Linked DNA regions of Homo sapiens: region 2 is linked to region 1. The links are contacts of gene promoters, found by promoter capture Hi-C in blood cells and fetal thymus (Javierre and others, 2016). All regions are on one chromosome and are shown on one strand. Each heading gives the region's core, a stretch centred on a gene start or on the middle of the fragment in contact. The rest is flanking DNA. Distances are from core to core; before and after follow the strand shown.

The links. The method cuts DNA at HindIII sites, captures the fragments that hold promoters and counts their contacts. A CHiCAGO score of 5 or more calls a contact.
Region 2: a contact is called between a fragment that was not itself captured here and the fragment with the promoter of DEFB116 in region 1, in 3 of 17 cell types (total CD8 T cells, total CD4 T cells and naive CD8 T cells). The highest score is 5.3, in total CD8 T cells.

The regions. Positions count from the first base shown.
Region 1 is chr20:31,307,204-31,310,124 of GRCh38, forward strand. DEFB116 (defensin beta 116) reads right to left here and starts at 1,382. Exons shown (of 2, transcript NM_001037731.1): 1 at 1,316-1,382. The coding sequence starts at 1,382. The HindIII fragment of the contact is 2,687 bases long and covers 537-2,921 here.
Region 2 is chr20:31,344,041-31,346,961 of GRCh38, forward strand. It overlaps the pseudogene HAUS6P2. Among named protein-coding and RNA genes, the nearest start is that of DEFB118, 23 kb to the right of the region's middle. The HindIII fragment of the contact is 790 bases long and covers 1,101-1,890 here.

The sequences.
Region 1 (2,921 bases), core at 132-2,631:
TTTAAGAACACTTAACATAAAATCCACTCCCTTGGTAATTTTTGAAATATCCAACACAGTACCGTTAACTATAGGAACTGTGTTGTACAGTAGATTTCTAGGACATATTCATGACAGTATAGTCTCTTCAATAAATGTATTGGGAAAACTAGGTATCTAGATGCAAAATAATAAAATTGGATATTTATCTTACACCATACACAAAAACAAATTCAAAATGGATTAAAGACTTAAATCTAAGACCTGAAACTATAAAACTCCTAGGAGAAAACATAGAGAAAAAGCTTCTTGACGTTGGCCTTGGGAAGGATTTTCTGGATATGACACCAAAGCACAGGCAACAAAAGCAAAAATAAACAAGGGGATTGCAGCAATCTAGAAAGTTTCTGCACAGCAAAGGAAACAGTCTACAAAATGAAGAAACAACCTATGGAATGGGAGAAAATATTTGCAAATCATATATCTGAGAAGGAGTCAATATTCTCCTTATTTCAATAGCCACAACCCTGCTGTGATGAATTCAACTGTCTTACTCAAGCTTAATCACCCCCAAACCCAGGCTAAGTCAATCCCTGCCCAGATAAACCTCACATACCCATGACTGAATAAGATACCCACTTTAGGCAAACACTAACTACAACTCAAGCCCTACCTCTTCTAATAACCACCAAAAGCCCAACTGCAAAACATACAAACATAACACTATCCAAGCCACCCAACCCCATTCACAGCATCAATCTAAAACACAACCCAGCTACAAACCTCTCTATACCCCAACTCCCAGTTGCACCAACTCTACCCCAGCTCCATTCAAGAAAAAATACCATTTCCTCTCTAGAATGCACCAAAACATCTATTCAGCCCAACCTATAAATACAATTATTCACCCCATGCTCATCCCCACTCACTTTTTGGATATTACCCTATCTCTAAGGTCTTACAACCTCCCCACCTCAACTCCCTACCCAACTCCAAACTGCTATACCCCTCCTATAGCTCCTCAACTTGCACACAGTCTCTCACACCTAACTCATGAATTAAGCCCCCATCCCAATGACAGCACTACCTAAAATGTTCCATGCTTAGACTGTCCACTATGCCAGGATCAACAACCTCTTCAATTTGTCTTGGCAGAGCAGAACCAGGGGAGATCTTTACATGAAATTAACCTTGGGAATAACATCTGTGACCCACCTGAGACCAGAAAAGGCTTTAGGTGTTGCCCACTATATGTGAGTAGGAGTCACTGCAGAGGTCACCAAGATACCAGTACCACATGCAAGACGCCAGAACCTTTGAGAGAGGCCTGAGTTACCTGGAGTCTTTTGAGCCAGGATCATAAGGATGGCAATGGTCATTAAACAGGGCTTCATGACTGACATGTTCCACCAGAATGAAGGGCTGTGTTGCAGGTGACCAAACAGAGATCACTGTAGCAGAGCAGTAGCCCGCCTTTATTAGTTTTGGAAATGCGTCAGGGTTCTGTGCAGTGAACTAAAAGGGATGGGAGATACCTGATGTCAGGCAGGAAGAAGGACAACATGTATCACTTATCTGAGCTGGATACTCTGTGTAAGCGTGGGAGACTTGCCAGCAGTGCTCATGTCTGTGTGGGCCTTTCTTCCCATTAAGAAATAAAGACAAATTAGAGCCAGTTGGCATTTTGTGTGAAACGAATTTGAATGAATGAATCAACCAAGCAAGCAAGCAAACTTGAAAAAACTTATAAACAATTAGATAAGAAATAAGCACGTGTATACCTATGTGAGGCACGTGTATACCTATGTAACAAACCTGCACGTTCTGCACATGTACCCCAGCACTTAAAGTATAATTGTAAAAAAAGAAATAAATAATTATTTTTAACTGTAGTCACCATGCTGTGCCCACAGAACACCAGAACTTATTCCTCCTATCTAACCGAAAGTTTGTACCCATTGACCAATGTCTCCCCTTTCCCCATCCACCCTCCCTCGAGGCTCTGGTAACAACCATGCTAATCTCTACGTCTATGAGTTCAATTTTTTTAGATTCCACATCTAAGTGAGATCATATGGTATGTGTCTCTCTGTGCCTGCTTTATTTCACTTCACATAGTGTCTTCTAGGTTCATTCATATGATTGCAAATAACAGAATTTTCTGTTTTTTAAAGGCTGAATAGTACTCCAGTATCTATAGTTAATAATAATGTAAAGAGCTAAAAGAAAGATTTTTAAATGACCTCATCACAAATAAATAATAAATATTTGAGGTGATGGACATGCTGATCTCTCAATTAATTGATCCCTTTATTATTATATAATGACCTTCTTTGTCTCACTTTGTGGTTTTTTACCTAAAGTCTATTTTTTCTGTTGTAAGAAAAGCTGTTCCTGCTCTTTTCTGGTTTCTTTTTCCATGGAACATCTTTTTCCATCACTTAACTTTCAGCCTATGTGTTTCCTTAAAACTGAAATGAGTCTCTTGTAAGCAAAATACAGTTGAGTCATTTAAAAAAATCAATTCAGCCACTCCTTCAATTGGCAAACTGAATCCATTTACATTCAAAGTAAGTATTGATAGGTAAGGATTTACTTTTGCCATTTTGTTCATTCTTTTCTGGTTATTTTATACATCCTTTGTTCCTTTCTTCCTCTTTTGCTATCTTCCTTTGTGATTAGATTATTTTCTATATTAGAATGCTTTGATTCCTTTCTTCTTATCCTTTGTGTATCTACTGTCAGTTTTTGCTTTGTGATTACTATAAGGGTTACACAAAACATATGTTGTTATAACCGGCTGTTTAAAGCTGATAACCACTTAACTTTGGTTGCAAAATATGATTCTACATTTTTATTGTATCTCTCCTGATAATTTATGTTTCTGATGTCACAATTTACTGTTTATATTGTGTGTATCCCTTATCAGATTATTGTAACTT
Region 2 (2,921 bases), core at 246-2,745, 37 kb after region 1:
ATCTGTCTCTCAATTTTGTCAAGAGTCAACTAATAGCATTAGTTCCATCTAAAGCATATCGGTTAGACTAAGGACTGAACTAACAACTTCTCTTTTTCCAGAAACATGAGTGTTTCATTCACTGATGTTCACAAAGGCCCAACCTTTTGAGTTTTTTCTTCTATACTACTTTGGTCACCCATAGGGTTCCATTTTTTTAAATTTGGTTTTGCAGTTCTATACATCTAGATCTCAAATTTCAGACATACTTAACTAATAATTGTACATTTTCCTGAGATTTTGGGGTAATACAATCTGCTCTTTGCAAAATTTGTAAACATTTGTTACGTGCTAAATGGCATCTGGCATTGCGCTTGTGCAAACTTTGTGATTTCACATTAAATGTCTGCAAAACATAAAGAATTTTTAGAATTGGTTTTCATATATTTTATTACAACAAATCTCGCAAGATGTTACATCAGATGAGTAAACAGAACCGCTAGGAGAAATAAATAGTGAACAACAATTTGAGGAAAGCTTCCACATTCAGCAGAAATCCTTGTTAACCATTCACAGCAATGTTTCCTGAATATCGTATCACTTTCTTGGTCAAATGGTGGCCAACAAAATTTAAAAACTTCTTTGGTGAGAGACTGGTCCAGCATTTGAAACAAAAAATAAGAAACTATATGAAAGCCATCACGGTTCAGCTTATCAAACATGTTCACTCCAAGGTGCTTATTTGACACCCTTTGCAGGCCATGGTCAAACCCGGGCCTGGCTCAAAGCTGAGCACCTGCCGATACATTCAGAGATGCTTGTTCTGGAAAGAGGTGATCCAGGCCAAGGTCATCCTCATGATAGGCACGGTGACTGCAAAGAAAAAAAGCACAAGCCCTAGCGACTCTTGGGTCCTCAGGATCCCTCCCTATGGGCAGCCTGAGGTCTCAGAGGTCCCTTCTTTGCCACTGCCTGCATCTCTCTCGCTGGAGCCATTTCACCTCAAAGGGCTGTACAGTCTCCAGAAAATGGAGCCTGTCATGGGAATGTGGCCGCAGCTGCCTACTCGAAGCCTACAATATGTTCTTAACTAAACAGTAATTAAAGGACAATGTAATTTAAGCTTAAAAGTTCTAATGTTTAAAACATAAGCACCTTGTCAAGCACATTTTTGGACAATGTATATAATCCGTTGGTATAAACTACCTTCATTTGGGTAATCTGAAGAACAAATTAATTTATATCCATGAGAATAAATAGATTTTTTTTTAAAATGAAGATAATATGGTAACGATAGACTTCACTTTCTGCATCTCTCCAAATTTTATTTAAAAGTGTCAAGATAAATAAAGATTTACAAGTGCCATAATATTAAATTGTTCTAAAGCTCCTAAATGATGGATTTTAGAAAACATAAGTTAATTTTAAAGGATAATGAAATCACAGCTTATAACAACAATTTTACAGGGAAACAAGAACATTATAAAACTAGGCCCAGCTGGTTTAACTGATGAATAAACTCTACATAAATAGAATACTGTCTGAAGTTTATAAGAACCAAATTTATATGCACTACATGTTTAAATTGTGGCTCAATTTAATTGAAGACCTATGTTTTTATTTATATATTTAAATATTATAATTAATAAAAACATCTGATTTACAAATTAAGTGTAAGGAATGTAGGTATTTAACTGTTTTGTAAAATAATAAATAGATTAAAAGTCTTAAATAGACTAAAAATCTCATGTTTGTATTTTTATTTCCCACTGAGGCAAATTCAGAGAGAACAAATATAGACTTCTTTTAACCCAAACTTTATCAAAAAATAAAAATGTTTCCCCTGCTTGGGAGTATTAATGGGAACTGGATATAACTATAAAATCTCTCCCTCAACTAAATAATATTAAAAGCTTTGTGGAAGGATTTTATAATCCTTTTTATGATTACTCATTAAGCCTAAAGTTAATTTGCATATCTTTTATTCCCCATATTGTACGTGGAAGGAACATTAAGGTCATTTAACTAAAATTAGATTTTGCCTTTTCTCATCCAAAAACATTTTTAAGTGAAAGTATTTATATCAGAAAACAAGAACACCATTAAAATTATTTTTAAGATCTTTGTGATTTTGACAGAGTTCTTTATACATTTTTTATTTATATATTTTATGTTATTCCTGAGTATAATATTCCTTTTGACCAAAAGGTTTTAAACAATTCAGTACTTCAATTTCTTCATTTGCAAATAATCTTTTCAAGTACAAACCTATTATAAGATTCAGTCCTCCAAAGATGTATTTCTTTAATTTTCTTAATGTATTTGCACACCTTACAAGGTTTAATTGATGGCTCAACTCCTCAAGCACTTGCCACTTTCTCCCAGGCTGGAGTTTTTTTATTGAAGTGCTAACAAATTTAAGGCACTTGGAATTTGGGTTTGATTTAAAATTGTTTTCCCTGAAAGTTAATAAAACCTTTACACCCTTTCCAATAACCTCCATAGACAGGCTCACCTATCTAATGTAGAGATACCTTTTAAAGGAAACCTCTTTCTCTCCTCAGTCATATCACATCCACACCAACATTCAAGGGTCACACGGCTTCTGCAACTGTCAGCTATTTAGGCAGCATCAGAAAGCATCAGAAAAATGGACATGTTGGTAGGATTAGAGAAACCTCTTGGATTCTCACTCCCTGTTTCTCAATTTGCATGGGCTCACACATAGGAAAAAGTCTCACAATTGTGCCCACCCTGCCCCACCCCCTACCCCCCTACACCTCCCGGGCCCAGGAACTGAATCAGCACAAGAAGACATCTTCCACTCCCTGTGATTTCATCTCTGACCTGACGACCAATCAGCACTCCTGACTCACTGGTTTCCCCCCACCCACCAAGTTGTCCTTAAAAATTCTGATCCCCAAATGCTGGGGAGACTGATT